Regions from separate parts of the Homo sapiens genome. Here all the other regions are linked to region 1. Evidence: promoter capture Hi-C in human tissues and cell types (Jung and others, 2019). All regions are on one chromosome and are shown on one strand. Each heading gives the region's core, a stretch centred on a gene start or on the middle of the fragment in contact. The rest is flanking DNA. Distances are from core to core; before and after follow the strand shown.

Region 1 (5,155 bases), core at 1,519-4,018:
CCTAAACAAACAGAGAAGGCATCCTGACAGGTGACTTTGCTGCTTCAGAGTCACCAGCTCAAAACCTTCCTTCTTTTAAGAACTCAAATGTTGAGGGGATGTCTTCCTTAATCCCTCATCCCAAAAGAGCCCTAAAAGATGAAAGAAAACTATTCTCCTTCCCACTCCCTAAACTTGCCCCCTTGTCTACAAAGTAGGCAGGCCTACTCAGCACAGAGGAGGGAGAAGGGAAGAGAGAGAAAAGACAAAAAGAAGAAACTGTACCTAACTATAGAAAAGTGAGACACTCCCCACCCTCAGCTCCACTGAAGTGCCCCCAGAGGAGTCTGGTCTCTCTGCAGACTCAGGGGGAAGGAAGGGGACTGGAGAAATCAGCCTTAATCTTCCACATCCCCTCTTCTGAAGATCCCATACCCCAACCCCCTTGCTTGTTCTTCTAAGGACATTGGAAGACTAATGGAGAGCTAAGATTTGTGTGTTTGTTTAAAGTAAACTTAGGCAACTATAGAGAAGATGGGATGTTACCAGGCCAGAGAGGGAGGGGAATAAAAAGAAACCATCAGACATTGACGTAAAACTAATTCACATCCACTGGTTTATTATTGATCACGGGGCATTTCACATCGACACTAAAATTCTTTATTGCAAGTTTTACAATAATCAAGTAAATTCAGTCCAAAAACACAATAACCACGATAGGGGTGGGGAGAGATTCTACCTATAGACTGCCTCTCTGAACTGAAAGTTCATTTTGATTTTCTTTTGGCTCCTCAAACTGAACAGCTCTGAGAGGCTCTCCAGATGCATTTAGCTTTGTCTGCTGTCTTCGCCCCCTCTCCTCCCACACCCCCCCCCAACAATAATACAAAAGAACTTCATAGCTTTGTTCTCCTTAAAATGACTTCCCCCTCACTAACCTCCCCTGGTGCATTTTCAATGCAAAAGGCCTAAGGAAAGAGGGGGGGAAGGAGGAGGAGGAGAAGGATGAGAATTGGCTTTAAAATTTCTTTCCTTTTTTCTTTTCCTCATTTCCCCTGAAATTCACCCAAGCCAGACCATCACACCTTGCAATATATAATTTTTGCAGCTTTTTTTCTTAAAAAATAAATAACCCCCCAAAATGGCCTTTTAAAAAAAAACACCCAGCAGGTACCATGCTAAGACAACATCACATGCTTAAAAGGGTCCTTAACAGTGGGAGGGAGAGGAGGGCAGGGGGCTTGTTTGTTTATCTGTTTTGTCTGTTTGGAACTGACAAGGGACAAGGTGAGAGGAAGAGAGAAAAGAACCTATATATATATATATATATATATATATTAAATTCTATAAATAAGAGTCAATTTGTGTGTGAGGGGAGGGTGGGGGCATGGGGTGGGGGCAGGGGTGTGAGTTATGTTTTATAACCTGGTAATGTCCTCTGCCCGTTGCTGCTCCGGCGGCGTGGCGCTCTGGGAGTGGTCTTCAGAAGTACCCGGGGTAGCTGCCGAAAGGGTGCTGGGCGCAGCGCCGGCCGGGGGTGCTGACCTGACTTTGGTGTTGGGGAGTCGGTGGTCCTTCTTCCATTTCATGCGACGGTTTTGGAACCAGATTTTGATCTGCCTCTCAGAGAGGCACAGCGAGTGGGCGATCTCGATCCTTCTCCTTCGGGTCAGGTAGCGGTTGTAATGAAACTCTTTCTCTAATTCCAGGACTTGCTGCCGGGTATAGGCTGTCCTCGAGCGCTTGGGTTCCCCTCCGTTATAATTGGGGTTCACTGGGGGGAGGGGAAAAGCAAATAGTGGGGTTCAGAGGCAGCAGGCTCCCCGCCCCCCACCCTCACCCCATCCTCAGCTCTGAGAAACAGGAGGAGGGAGTGGTGGAAATAAAGTCATCAAGCTTAAATGGGTTATAAAGAAGTTGAAGGAAGCTGAAGACTTTGTAGTGTAATAAGAGGGGAATCCTCATTGTAACGACACTGAATTATTTATGCGCCCTTAGAAAGCGAGCATAGTTTTCACACATACATAACAGATCGTAGCACATGGCTCGGACTGCCCAGAGTAGCTAAGCCATAAAATTTATGGGGGATGTAATTACCCATTCTCGCTCGTAAATCCAGTTCAATTGTGCTAACCCAGAGTCGCTCCTGGAGAGAGAGGGGGAAGGAGAGAAAGGAGGACGGGGGCCAGAGGGGGCCGAGGAGGGTGGGGAGCGCTAGGGAAGAAGGGAGGGAGGGGGGGAGCAAAAAGCAAAGTTGCCTACCCGTGCTAACGTGAATTTTTTTCATCCATGGGTAGACTATGGGTTGCTTGCTGGCGGCGCTGGAGGGATGGTCGGGGGCTGGCTGGCTGCAGGCTGGCGGGGCTGGGGACGGGGAGGCGGAGGCGCCTGAGAGAGGCGCCGGCTCGCAGAGCGACTGTGATTTCTCGGGGTGGTGGTGGCCCGCCTGGGCCGGCCCGTGGCCTCGCGAATTGCCGGGCCCCTGGAGACTGGTGCAGCTATACTGGCGCTCAGGGTAGCTAGGGCGCGGAGGCGGTGGTGGGTACAGCTCCTGGTGGTGATGCTGGAATCCCGATTCCCTGGTCCGGCCGTAATATTCCGGACTGTGTTCAGGGATGTAGCTATTTTGCGAATATTCTTCGCATGGAGGAAATTTCGGATCGATGTAGTTAGAGTCCATCAAATACGAGCTCATGATCATTAATTTCTGGAGTGGAAAATAATTTTTCTCGCTTTGTCGTTTTTCTGCTCCATAAAGCCCTCCTACTAGCTAGCGACCCTGTAAAGTTACTTTCACCATGTGACTCCTCCGGCCAATCACACGGAGCAACCCAGTCCCCGGATAAGGAACCGAATCGCTTTATTCAAAATGTATCCAATTTTTTTGTGTGTGTGGTGGTGGTGGTGCTGGGAGGCGGGGGTGGGTGGTGATGTGGGGTTAGCTAGCAGAGGTTGGAGTGCCCCCAGTGCACATCCCGCCAGACTGACAACCCTCCCCTGCAAAAGGAGATGGGAAGCTCCCGGCTCCCCTCCAAAGCCCGGGCATTGGGGGACTGTCGGGAGGCAGTGATTCAGCCCCCGCCCAGGGTCTCCCCTCAGGCCTCTGCTGGGCCCCGTGGGCCTCGGCTCCTGAGCTTTTCCAGAGGTCTCCATTCATGGCGATCGTGTCTCAGTCTGTGTAGGTCACGGGGCAGCGCCCCTCTTTCGCAGGAAGAGGAAGTTGAATGAGGACTGGAGTGGATGTTGGATGGGGAGGGGCCCAGGCTGAGCCGAGGAGGCTGGAGAGCCTGGAGTGCCCCCCATCCAAGGATACCAGAGTCCAGCCCCTCTTCCCCATACACACTCACCCAACCCTCTGGCCATGCGGCCGGCGAGGCAGGGTCCCAGCTGGACCAGGCAGGTAGAGGCAGCGGGATGCAAATGATTCTGACGTCATTTCTGGAGGTCTGGGGGTTGAGCCCCCGCTGAAGAGAGACAGGAAGTGGTTGGCAAAAGCAGAGTTCAGAAGTCTCGCCTTCCCCTGCTACCCACTGACCCTCCCTGCCCCAGCCCCAGAGCAGAGGATCTCTTCTACTGCTGGCTTCTGTTTCCACTCCCCATTCAGCCCGGCCTGCTATTTTCTGACAATTATCTCCAAGGAGCTGGGGCAAGGAGGAGAGCTTTCTGCCAGGAGTCAGTGCCCTGTGATGGTGCCCAGCCAAGATCCTGAGAGTTCTTTCTCTGTCCCCACAGAGGGCAGACCTAGCTAAGAGGGAGGCCTGTGTGGGTAGAGCCTGCTTGCTTCTGGCTAGGAGCTGTATCCATGTAACACGTGTGTTTACATGTAAACACGAATTCCTAAAGGCCAGCTCCAGGCTGCTTTCCAAAAACGGAAGGCTAAGCTCACCAAGTTGGGGAGGCACGGCCAGCCTTTGGGGTCTCCAGCCCATTCACACCCCCTGCTCTCTCTCTGCCACCCACTCACAGTAATACTCTGATGGAGGGGGGTGACAGGGCCGTAGAGGAGGGAGGGGGCCAGGAAAAGCTGCTTTCCTAACCACCACCCCCCCCCCCCAGCTAGGGGTGGTCCTGTCATGCCACCGATTCCAATTAACTGATCGCCCATAACTCAGAGTTGCGGGGGGTAGCGGAGGGGAGAGCCCAGGGAGGGAGCCGGGTCCCCTTGTTGTACTTGATAACAATTATAGTTTAAAATCATAGCTTGCCAGGGCTCAGCTATATTTTACTTGATAACAATAAAAGTGACACATAAAGTTAACTGTTTATGTTTTATTTATTAGACTAAATCTGCCAGCGGTGGTAGGAGCGCTTGCCTCGTCGCTACAGCTTTTATAGGGCTGTAAAACGTCATAAATCAGTCTCGCGGAATCGCCCGCACTCTTTGTGTCGGCGGCGGCGCAGGGCTGGCGGCCGCTGGCTGCCTGCTCCCTCCTTTCCACGAAAAGTCGTAATGTGATTTTTTTTCCCTCTGATTTTATTATTATGATCGCCGCCGTGATTAGTCAATCTACCTTTAATTCGCCGCCCTACGCTACCTCCTCCCAGCCCAGCCTGGTTGACACTTGAATAAGTACCTTTTAAAACGGCATAACAACTATTTGAGGGTTTAATTAGAACATCTGCAATTAAGGGAATGAGGAGGGGAAAGGGAAAAAAAAAATAAAGCCCTTGTGAGAGGGAGACTGAAGGCAAGAGATTCCAATCCTTTTCTCATCACCTTTGGGATGTTGGAGAGGGTCCCCACTTCCAAATTAGGGCTTCCCCAAAGGGCTGGAATGAGAGGGAAGCTGGACCCACAGCCGTGCCCAAAGGGTGCGGATTCCCGCCTGGGCCCTCGTTGCCTTCCCTCCTCCAATGCTTAGGCCCCCAGCCCCACCCCAGGCTCAGCAGGGCCAGGGCTTAGCTCCCAAGGAGCTGGTGCTTGGTGGTCCCTGAATACTCTCTCTCCAAGAGGACAGTGCCCATCCCCACTGTAACCAGGCCAGGTGAAGGAACAGGAGTTCCCCAGAGGCTGAACACCTCTAATGGAGATTCCCAAATTCTCAGAGTTGGCTGAGAACCCTTGCCCACTCTTGTCCGGAACTCTCTGCATGTGAGGACAGGCTGGTTTGGTTGGAGAGGAAGTTGAGACTGTGAGTGAGGGGGCGGAGGAAGGCTACTGCTTGGTTAATAGTGG
Region 2 (5,155 bases), core at 1,150-3,649, 90 kb before region 1:
ATGATGTTAAGGTCTGCTCAACTTGCTGTTGTCCATAGAGCATGGGTGCTCAATCCAAGCCTCCTCTGGCACTGGGAGAAGGGACAGCTGAAGGCACGAGGGCAGGGTGGCAGAGAGGAACACAAATAACTTTCTGTAGCCAAAAAGTCACTTTTCTGACCACCTTCCCTGTTCTGTTGACCACCTCCAAACTTGTGGTCTGTGTGAGAGAACAGTACAGAGGGAGGGAGGCATCAGACCTGACCCCAGGAGAGGAGGGCAGAGCTAAGGCTGACGTTCAGAGAAACTGGCAGCATCCCTCTACCATTTATACCTCTAGAGAAAGAGATGGAAAGTGTGGGAGTGTGGAAAGCGGGGGAATGTGGAAGGAGAGAGACAGAAACACAGAGAAGGCTAGGTAGTGAGAGGGACAGAAAAATGAAGATGAAAGACAGATGAAGATGTAGAGAGAACAAGAGACAGAGGCAAGAGGAGACAGACCAAAACGGACTCAGAAAGGACACTCCAACAGTTGGTTTGGTGTGGAGAAGGAGGCCTTTTCCTAAAGCTTGGTACCAAGCAAGAGGAACAGTGGTATCAACAGACCAAGGCAGGGGTTGCATCTGTGCCAGGCTGACCTGCCCCATGCCCTCTGAGGGTGCCCTTCCCCTGGCTTCAGGACCGTGTTTCCCTGCACCAGCTCCACGCTGCTTCCCCACTCTCTCCCCTCCCCTCAGTGCCCTTGCCCCATCCCCTCATCTGTAAGATCTGGGATTTGCGGGGACACTTAATCCATATGGAGCTGATTCATTCCCATCTAAATCATCTCCATGAGCTTCCCTAAGAGCCCTCTGATGTGCCAGCCACCATTCCTCTCCCCTGGGCGATGGCGGGCTGGGGGCTGCCAGTAAACAAACCTCAGCTGCCATCCATCCATCTTGGCCTCGCCCATCAGTCCAGCCAAGACCATTCATCTCTCCAGCACTGCTCCCTGCACTCCTCCATCCCTCCATCCATCTGTCTGTCCCTCCTTCTCATGCCCCTCTACTGGAAACTTTACCTCTCTGCCTTTTCCTGGGTAGCATCTTGAGGGGTCATCTCAACCATCCCCCTGCCTTCAGACAGGAGCCTTATTTTACCCCTGGCCCAGCAAGGCGGGGGCTCTCCCAGTTCATCACCTTCCGAGAATGAGGGCTTCGAGTCTGATGATTTTACTCTACAGTACTGACAACCTAGGGAAGTTCTTTCTTCTGTCTAGCTTGTGTGCTTGACATTCACATATGACCACACGTCTGAATGGGAGTGGGTATAAGATTATAGGATTATACTCAAGCATGAGAGTCTCCAGTATTTGTAATATGTACCTCTCTGGCTTAACATGGTATGTAGAGCTCAAGACCAGTGAAATGGGCCTTTCCTCCAGTCTCCCCCAGCAGAGTCTGGCCCAGTGCCAAGCACGCAGTGGGCGTTCGGTGTTGATTGCTTTCTGGCCATCTTCTTATTTGCCAGTGCCAATGAGTCCAGTGGTCTCACATACATCCTGGGGGGGGTTTTGGTGGGATGACTCTGTGGATCTGATACAGGGCAGATTATGGCACCTCTAGCCTGGCAGGGTTTGCAGTAAACACTAAGGAAATGTCTCTTACCTCTATTCTCCCACTCAAATTTCTTTTTTTTTTTTTTTTTTTTTGAGACAGAGTCTCGATCTGTCGCCCAGGCTGGAGTGCAGTGGTGCGATCTCGATTCACTGCAACCTCCACCTCCAGGGTTCACTCCATTCTCCTGCCTCAGCCTCCCGAGTAGCTGGGACTACAGGCGCTCACCACAACGCCCGGCTTATTTTTTGTATTTTTGGTAAAGATGGGGTTTCACCATGTTAGCCAGGATGGTCTCGATCTCCTGACCTCGTGATCCACCCTCCTCGGCCTCCCAAAGTGCTGGGATTACAGGCGTGAGCCACCACGCCCGGCCTATCCCACCCAAATTTCTTAACGCAGGCCTGGGGTAGAGCTTGCCTCAACAACTCGCTCTCGGTAATTGTGGGGCTGAAGAGAGGGAGGACGAACAGGAGGGGCAGCAGGTGCTGGTGGGGCCTTCCATGGCACTGAAGCAGAACCCTCGCATTTGGGGGAAACCCTTATGTTTACCTGCACTAATCAGGAGAGTGCATGGAGGGCGCCGCTGTCCCCTGCCCCAGCCTTAGCATTATGGCCCTTCCCTTTTCAGCCTCTTCACCTCATCCTGGGAGGGGTGACTCTGAGAAAGGGGCTTCTGCAAGTCCCTAAGGAGAGAAGACGGGAGCAGGTCTTTGGGTCCCACCTCAGCGTCTCCATGCGCAGCACCACTGGAAGTTGGGGAACAGGGAACAGGTCTGTCTGTCTGTCTCTGGTCAGTAGAGAATTTTGGTCAGGCTCTAGTAACCCTGCAGAGGGATAAAGTGGGTATGGGGGGTGGAGGTGGAGTTACAGGGAGAGATGAGGGCAGTACTTGTGACAGGTGTGTCCTTCCCTGGATCCAGTCATGAAGAGTGGGAGGGAGAGAGGAGAGGGAGGGGAAACATGAACTTTCACGTGCCCTGAGAGAGCTGGTGTTTCACCACTGCCAGCCGCTCCCCGAGACCTGGGATGCCTTGTTGAGCATCTGCCCTGCTCCCAGACCAGACTAGACCAGGCAGGGAATCCCGATGCATGCTTCTCCCCTGTCCCCACACTAACTCCCACTCCCTTTCCCCTTGTTGCTGGTCCCCTGCATGGAGTCACTGTGAGTACACAGGATAGGTGAGGCTCTACAGCTGTTATTGAGTTGTGAGGATCCTTGACCTTGTCCCTCTCACTCCCCTACAGGGAGAGGAGGCTCTAATTGTAGTCAGAAAGATAAGAAGGGTGTCTTGGAGAGGAGAGGGGCTGGGGGGGCCGTGGGGAAGCTAACCACTTGCCCCAGTCGTGTGAAGGTAAGTGTGGGAGGGGAGGGGCCTGCAGGTAGCAAGGCCCAACTTAAGAATGATGAGGTGCTTCTTAGTTCTCTGAGCTATAGACATGTGAAGTATGTAAGACCATGCGAAAGGATAAATTATCACCTAAGGAGGAGAGGACATGGGGGAATAAGAAAAAATTCAAGCCAGGGAGACCCAATGCTACCACCCCCATCACCATCATGACCTGATCCATCTGTGCTGGACTGGATTAAAGTCCATAGGGAGGGGGAGGCCTGAGAACTGGCCCTGAGGTCTTCAGAGGAAAAGCTGATCCCCCACCGTGCATTTGCTTGATGTTACACAGAGCAAGGGGGAGCTGGGAACAGCTGCTCAAATTCTTCAGGTGGGGCAGCCACGGGGAGCTCCCCATCCTCCTTCTTCCTTCCTTGCACCCACCTCTCTCCAACCCCTCCTTCTACCTAGTCCGCTGAGGAACAGTGCCCTCTTCTCCCATTGGCCCGCCTCTCGTGGTTGTCCCCAGCCTCTTGGGCTAGGCCCTCCTCACCCACTCAGTGGCTCCTAACCTCTCTTGTCTCCTCTGAAACTCCTCTTCCTGCAAGAAGCATCCCAGGCTGCTTCTCCCCTCCCCCCAAAAAAAGCCCACTTACCCAGACTTGCAGCTGATGAAAATCCTTTAGGATCCACTCGTGGGCTGCTGCCTTGGGTCCTGCAGGGTCTGGAGATTCCTTTGTTTGTCTGTCCTCTATTGCTCAACATCCACATGTCCAATTTAGGCTGGGATTCCCACAATACAAGTGAGGAGCCAAGTCTTTTTTTTTTTTTTTTGAGATGGAGTCTCGCTCTGTTGCCCAGGCTGGAGTGCAGTTGTGTGATCTCTGCTCACCGCAAGCTCTGCCTCCCCGGGTTCACGCCATTCTCCTGCCACAGCCTCCCGAGTAGCTGGGACTACAGGCGTCTGCCAGGATGCCCAGTTAATTTTTTGTATTTTTATTAGAGATGGGGTTTCATCGTGTTAGCCAGGATGGTCTCGATCTTCTGCTCTCGTGATTCCCGCAAAGTGCTGGGATTACAAGCGTGAGCCACTGTGCCTGGCCGAGCCTGGGGTTTTAAAATCTATTTGACAGCCCTTCTTCTGACATCATGAGGCAGAAATGTCTTGAGGAATGCTGGGAGGTCTTAGACGACCAATGAGCGGGACTGGTACACTTTCCCCCAGGGAAGCCACCTCATGCTACAGCAAGTAGTGACAGAGGCTAGACAATGGGAAGAACTGTAATCTCTTAAAATTGAAGGAAAGATTTCCAGGGTTTCACTGAAGACCTTGAGGAGGAATGACTTTAATCTTTTCAAGCTCTGAGGGAGCAGAGAGGCCTGGGAGTCTGGAAAAGTTTCTGTCCACTCTTGCAGAACTGACTCAAAGAGGGACGGCCACTTTCTTTTTCAAGAGCCCTGACTCATCCACGTTCAGTCCAATTCCACTCACAATTTCTTAGATAATTGTTTCTTTCTTAGACAGAAATTTGGTTCTGGAATTCCCTGTCCTATTCCTCCCATGACCTGGGAACCATCTTTAGGAACCAACTTCAGCTTATGGTGCCAGAAAAACAGAGATGTAGAGACATTTTTGGACAGTCACACAGCAAACCATCAAGGAGCTGGGAATGCCCCCTTATGGATCCTCTTCTCTTCTCTGGATGTGAAGGGAAAGGATATGATCCTAGGGGGAAGGGTGGGGTTAGTGAGAGCTGGAAGAGCACCCCCGCCCAGCAGGCCCAGATCCAAATGTGCACATGATGGAAATGCCTTTATAGCCAAGGGCCCCTCCCTCCCAAAAATAAAATCCCACAATTGGGGAACATCTGGATCAAACCACAGCCATGAAAGCGCAACATCAAACGAGGGTTTCTGAGCGACCCTCCCCGCAGGCCCTGGTCCAAGAGAAATTGCAGAACTTCCTGCTTGAAGCTTTTAAGTGTCACAGAACCCCTCAAATTTGGGATTGCCCCCTATTTGCTGGAGACAGATGTCCCCGAGTGTGGTTGGGCCTGATTGCCCCCAGCGGGATAGAGTGTGTGTGACCTGATCTTACCCCCAGCTAATCCAGGCAGGAAAGCTGTGATGAGGGGCTCCAGCCTTTCAGGCTGGGGGCTGGGGAGAGAGGGGACAGGTGGGCCTTCTGAAACGTGCCTACATCAAAGGTTTGAGTACCCTCCCTTCCAAGCTTTGGCGCCTCCGGCGGGG
Region 3 (5,155 bases), core at 767-3,266, 66 kb before region 1:
TGACAAGTGGGCTTCTTACCCCTATTTCCAAAAGAGTTCATTGAAGTTCTGAGAGCTTAATCCCCGCTTTAGGCTACACAGTAGTAGCTGGATTTCCTGGCATCAGAACCCTCACCTAGGCTGCCTCTGAGCATGGCTTCTGTGTCCCAGTCTCAATTTCCATGAAGTTTCAGGTCCTCCTGTTCCCCCGCATTTGTAGTCACTCTTGGTGACTGGGAACAAAGGGCTAGAGCGTGAGCTGAAACTGAGACAGGGAGTGGCAGGCAGGCAGTGGGGAGAGAAACTTTTCTCACATCCACCCATGTGAAGAAGATGGACAAAAGGGTGGTCTTTCTGGAGGGAGGCTTCCAAGCCACTTTCCCAAGACTGCTGATCTTGGGATGAATGGCAGGGACCTGATTGGGGTAGGGGATGGGTGGTCACATTGTTTTCTGGGCTGTAGACTTTATTTCCCTTCCTTTGGGAAGAGAAGAGGAAGAGGACAGCTCGGGTGTGGGTTTGAGCCCTGGATTAAGACTGCCCGTTGTCCACTAAAATCTCTTCTTTCCTTGCTGCACGAGGGTAGAGAGACACCCAGCTGGACACTCCATTTCCCAGCTGCTCTTGTTGCCAGGTGTAGACACAGGGGAATGTGAGGCAAGCATGTCCTCAAAGCCTGATGACATTGGGTAAATTCTCCTTTGTGTTCTCTCTTTCATGAGCTGGGCAGATGTGCCTGAGACAGGTTTGACCAGGCAACTGAAAAGACATCCCTAAGGGAAGACAAAGCAAAGGTATGAAAGGAACACACGTCCCTGACTGACTAGGAGGAACAGAGCTGCCTGCTGTCTGGAACCGCTTCCTCCCAGACTAAGTGAGAAATAAACTTCTGTTTTCTATATGCTACTGTGTTTTGGGGCCTTTGTGTTATAGCAGTTTTGCTGTCATCCTTTCTAATTCACCTTCTCACACCAGATATTTCAAATTAAAAAGATTGTATCGGGCCAGGTGCAATGGCTTGCGCCTGTAATCCCAGCACTGTGTGGGGCTGAGGCAGGCAGATCACTTGAGGCCAGGAGTTCGAGACCAGTCTGGCCAACATGGTGAAACCCCATCTCTACTAAAAAATACAAAAATTAGCTGGACACGGTGGCACACTCCTGTAATCCCAGCTACTTGGGAGGCTGAGACAGGAGAATTGCTTGAACCCAGGAGGCGGAGGTTGCAGTGAACTGACATCATGCCACTGTGCACCAGTCTGGGCTACAAAATGAGATTCTGTCTCAAAATAAAAAAATGATTACATCAGATCACGGAATAACTATAATAATATTTATTGGGCCAGATAAGTATGCGAAGGACTCTATGCACATTATTTAGTGTAATCTATGTGACAATCCTCTGAGATATGTGTTACTATTATTCCAATTTACACACGAGGAAACAGGTTCAAGGAAGGTAAGTTATGTGCTGAGGGACACACAGGAGGGGGTGGAGCTGGATTTCAAGCCCACTGGGTGTGCAGAACTGAGCCTCTTCACCATGGGGGCAAATCCCTCCTGAGGACGGGGCTGGAAAAGCCATGGAGATCATCTTGTGCTTGGACAAGCCTCTCGCCAGTCACCACAGGGCCCTGAGACTCCCATTCCTACCTTCAAGAAGCTCAGCAGCCTACTACTCATGTTCATGTTGGGTCACTGCATACGGTTTTATTTGAAGGAAGGACCCCAGAGTTAAAATCATTTGAAAACCCCTGATAAATTCAGTCCCCTCCCTCTTTTTACAGGTGAGGCCCGGAGACAAGATATGACTTGCTTAAGGTCACACACTTAGTTTCTCTGTCAATCTTTCTAAATCGAGGACGAGTTCTCTTCCCGCTGTATCAGGCTGCCTCAACAAACAGGGAAGTACAAAAATAGCCAAATCCAGGAAGGAGGGCAGTGGTCTGTGTCTCCTCCAATTATTTCATGGGACAGCCAAGCCTATTTCCTTGATTTCCCTTGTGCCCCTCCTGTCGGATATCTGCTTTGGGACCCATCTCTTTTGGGCTTGCAGAGAGGACGGGCTGCACCAGTTCTCTACCCTCCTCATCACCCAGATGGTCAAACATGCAAAGGGAAAGGAGAGCTGGGGCCAGAGCTAAGGCAGGCAAAGAGACTCCTCGACCCCCTCCAGTCTTTCCACATTTATATTTTTGGAATTTCAGGCTCCCTCCTCCCCCTAGACCTTTCCTAGTAGCCCACCAGGGAGAAGAAGAGGGAAAACTGCCATAAATTTCTCCTATTTATACAAGATGACAGAGTTTCTTGTGCCAGAAAAAACACAGAAAGGGAGCTGTCAAGGGAGAAGGGACCCAGCCCTATTCCATCTGGGGTCAATTTATCTTTCCGAATCATGGCTTGGGGGCTACCCTAACATTGCCTGTATGAAATGCAGGCTTTGACTTGGGGCAGCCAGGCCAGACAGCCCCTGAGCTTTGCTTCTGATCACAGTTTTCCTGCTTCATCTCAACTGCCCCCCACCCCTTACGCTGTCTTTTTAAAAAGCAACTTTCTTGAGGTATAATTCATGTGTCATACAATTCACCATTTGAAATGTACAATTCAATGGTTTTAGTATATTCACAAGTATGTCGAACCATCACCATAGTTAATTTTAGAACATTTTCATCACCTCAAAAAGAAATCTTGTAACCTTTAGCTATCACCTCCCTATCCCCCCATATTCCTTCTTGCCCTTAACAACACTAATGTACTTTCAGTCTCTGTAGATTTCCCTATTCTGGACTTTCATATGAATGGCATCATATAATAAGAGACCTTCTGTGACTAGCTTCTTTCATTGAGCATAGTGTTTTCAAAGTTCATCCATGTTGTAGCATTTATCAGTACTTCATTCCTTTTCAGGGCTGACTAATATTCCATTGTATGGATATATCACACTTTGTTTATCCGTTCACCTATTGGTGAACATTTGGGTTGTTTCCACCTTTTGGATATTATGATTCTCTCTTTCCTCTTATTCTCTAGACATCTTGGATAGTATCCAGTGAGGCCTGTGGGCAAGAATGGGTGTTTCTTATATTTGGGAACACCTAATATCCATGAAAGCAGGGTCTTGGCACATGTCTGCTTTCATGTTAAGTACATGTACTAGCTGGAATTTTCCTCCCTCTTGTTACTGAGGTGGGGCTGCTCCCTCCTTTATCAATTCTCCCTTTTTATCAAGATTGCTATGTTGGACACTTGCTGACTCTTCAGACTAGGGGATTCAGATCCTTCTCTTGGGGCTTCAGAGATGTGGAGTGGATGAATGAATGTCTTCCCATCAGGGAAGAGTTTCCTGAGTCTGGTCTCAAGTGATTCTCCAGTGCCTCACAGCAGAAGGAAGGTCTGTGAAGACTCCCCAGGGTCGAGGGAAAGTTACGTTCTTGGAGGTATGACCGAGCCAGAATCCAGGCCTCCAGTTTCCATCTCCTTGCCTGGCCCATTTCAGTCTTCAGACATGCTTTGAGCTCAATCCAGTCACTCACCCAGCAACAGACACTGCCTCTGCCCTCATGGACCTTGCAGTTCTAGTGGTGAGAGTAAGATGAATACAAGTGAACAAAATGATGGCAAGTTGTTCAAGCTTGTTCAAACTTGTAAACACTGTTCAATGAATGAATGAACCAACAAGAACTTACTATGTGCTCTGGAAAGAAAATGTGAAAAAAGTCAGAGTTGTAAATCACTTTCTGCTACCACTACCTTTCCTAGTCTGGAACTCAGCATTACTTCTCCATCCCTTGGAGGAGAGAGTGGGCAGATATTACAAAATGTTAGCTAATAAGAGCTACCATTTGTTGGACCAGACATACACCAAGGGGTTTCTATAGTTCACTAATTTTCACCCTTTGAATTAGGCATCAATATTTCCATTTTGAAGATGAGAAAAACTGAAACTCAGGTTTAAATAGCTGTCTGAAATCACACCCATAGCAGTAAGTGGCAGAACATTTGCTCTGGACACTGGGATAAGTATGTGTGTATGGGTTTTTTTGGTTGTTGTTTTTTGTTTTCTGGGTTTTTTTTTGTTGTTGTTTGTTTGTTTTTGGGACCGAGTTTTGCTCTTGTTGCCCAGGCTGGAGTGCAATGGCATGATTTCAGCTCAATTCAACTTCCACCTCCAGGCTTCAAGTGATTTTCCTGCCTCAGCCTCCTGAGTAGCTGGGATTACAGGTGCCCGCCACCATGCCTGGCTAATTTTTGTATTTTTAGTAGAGACGGGGTTTCGCCATGTTGGCCAGGCTGGTCCCAAACTCTTGACCTTGTGATCCGCCTGCCCTGACCTCCCAAAGTGCTGGGACCACAGGCGTGAGCCACTGCGCCCGGCCATGTATGTGTTTTTATTCCTAGCACTTCATTACAAATACCAACATCTCTTCCTGCGGCCCTACCACAGAGGGAGCTGATCAGTTTCCCCTCCTGCCCAAAGGCAAAGCAGCCACAGTGGAAGTGCCAGAGTCCTCCCTCACAGCCTTCTGTCTAGTGGTTACTCCCGCTTCAAGGCTAAGGAAGGGAAGGACCTGTTTTGCTTTCAAAGGCTTTTTCCTTCCAGCCCTTGCTGTGTGGCCCGTTGTGTGTGGGAGGGACCATGAGAGGCCTGGATATTGTCAACAAAAGACTTGAACAAGCCAAAGAGCTGATGATGTTGACAAGAAGGGGACCTTAACAAGGCAGATAATCAAAAGTTGATGACTGACAGCCCCTTTCGCATCCCTTCACCCTCTGCTAAATCAGGTCTCTTACATGATCTTGATGACAAATAATAAAAATTATAAACACATTATAGTTTTCACATGCATTTGTTCACTTCTCACAGCAAATATGAGAGGTATCTAAGGCTGAGCAGCTTATTACAGAAAAAAGTTTATGGGACTACAACCTTAATTTTATGTAACAAAATTTATATAGAGCTTACCATGGATCATGTACTCTCCTAAATAGTTCAAAACTTTCATTTTAGAGAGATGGGGGTCTTGCAGCCAGGCGCAGTGGCTCACACCTGGAATCCCAGCACTTTGGGAGGCCGAGGTGGACAGATAACCTGAGGTCAGGAGTTCGAGACCAGCCTGACCAGCATGGTGAAACCCCGTCTCTACTAAAAATACAAAACACAAAAATTAGCTGGGTGT

Evidence for each region. The method cuts DNA at HindIII sites, captures the fragments that hold promoters and counts their contacts. A contact is called where the count stands out against the background at its distance.
Region 2: a fragment that was not itself captured here is called in contact with the fragment with the promoter of HOXC4 in region 1 in 3 of the 25 tissues and cell types used here (H1 embryonic stem cells, aorta and liver).
Region 3: a fragment that was not itself captured here is called in contact with the fragment with the promoter of HOXC4 in region 1 in 3 of the 25 tissues and cell types used here (H1 embryonic stem cells, bladder and neural progenitor cells).

Annotation. Positions count from the first base shown.
Region 1 is chr12:54,051,448-54,056,602 of GRCh38, reverse strand. HOXC4 (homeobox C4) reads right to left here and starts at 2,768. Exons shown (of 2, transcript NM_153633.3): 1 at 2,242-2,768; 2 at 573-1,753. The coding sequence starts at 2,680. The coding sequence ends at 1,398. RefSeq lists a cis regulatory region at 2,477-2,977 and enhancers at 3,554-3,713, 3,009-3,990, 3,991-4,972. The HindIII fragment of the contact is 12,403 bases long and covers 1-5,155 here.
Region 2 is chr12:54,141,228-54,146,382 of GRCh38, reverse strand. SMUG1-AS1 (SMUG1 antisense RNA 1) reads right to left here and starts at 3,781. Exons shown (of 2, transcript XR_007063322.1): 1 at 3,562-3,781. The HindIII fragment of the contact is 5,217 bases long and covers 1-5,007 here.
Region 3 is chr12:54,117,002-54,122,156 of GRCh38, reverse strand. FLJ12825 (a long non-coding RNA gene) reads right to left here. Exons shown (of 2, transcript NR_026655.1): 2 at 1-3,553. FAM242C (family with sequence similarity 242 member C) reads left to right here. Exons shown (of 3, transcript NR_170197.1): 3 at 710-880. Among named protein-coding and RNA genes, the nearest start is that of LINC02381, 6.5 kb to the left of the region's middle. The HindIII fragment of the contact is 9,358 bases long and covers 1-5,155 here.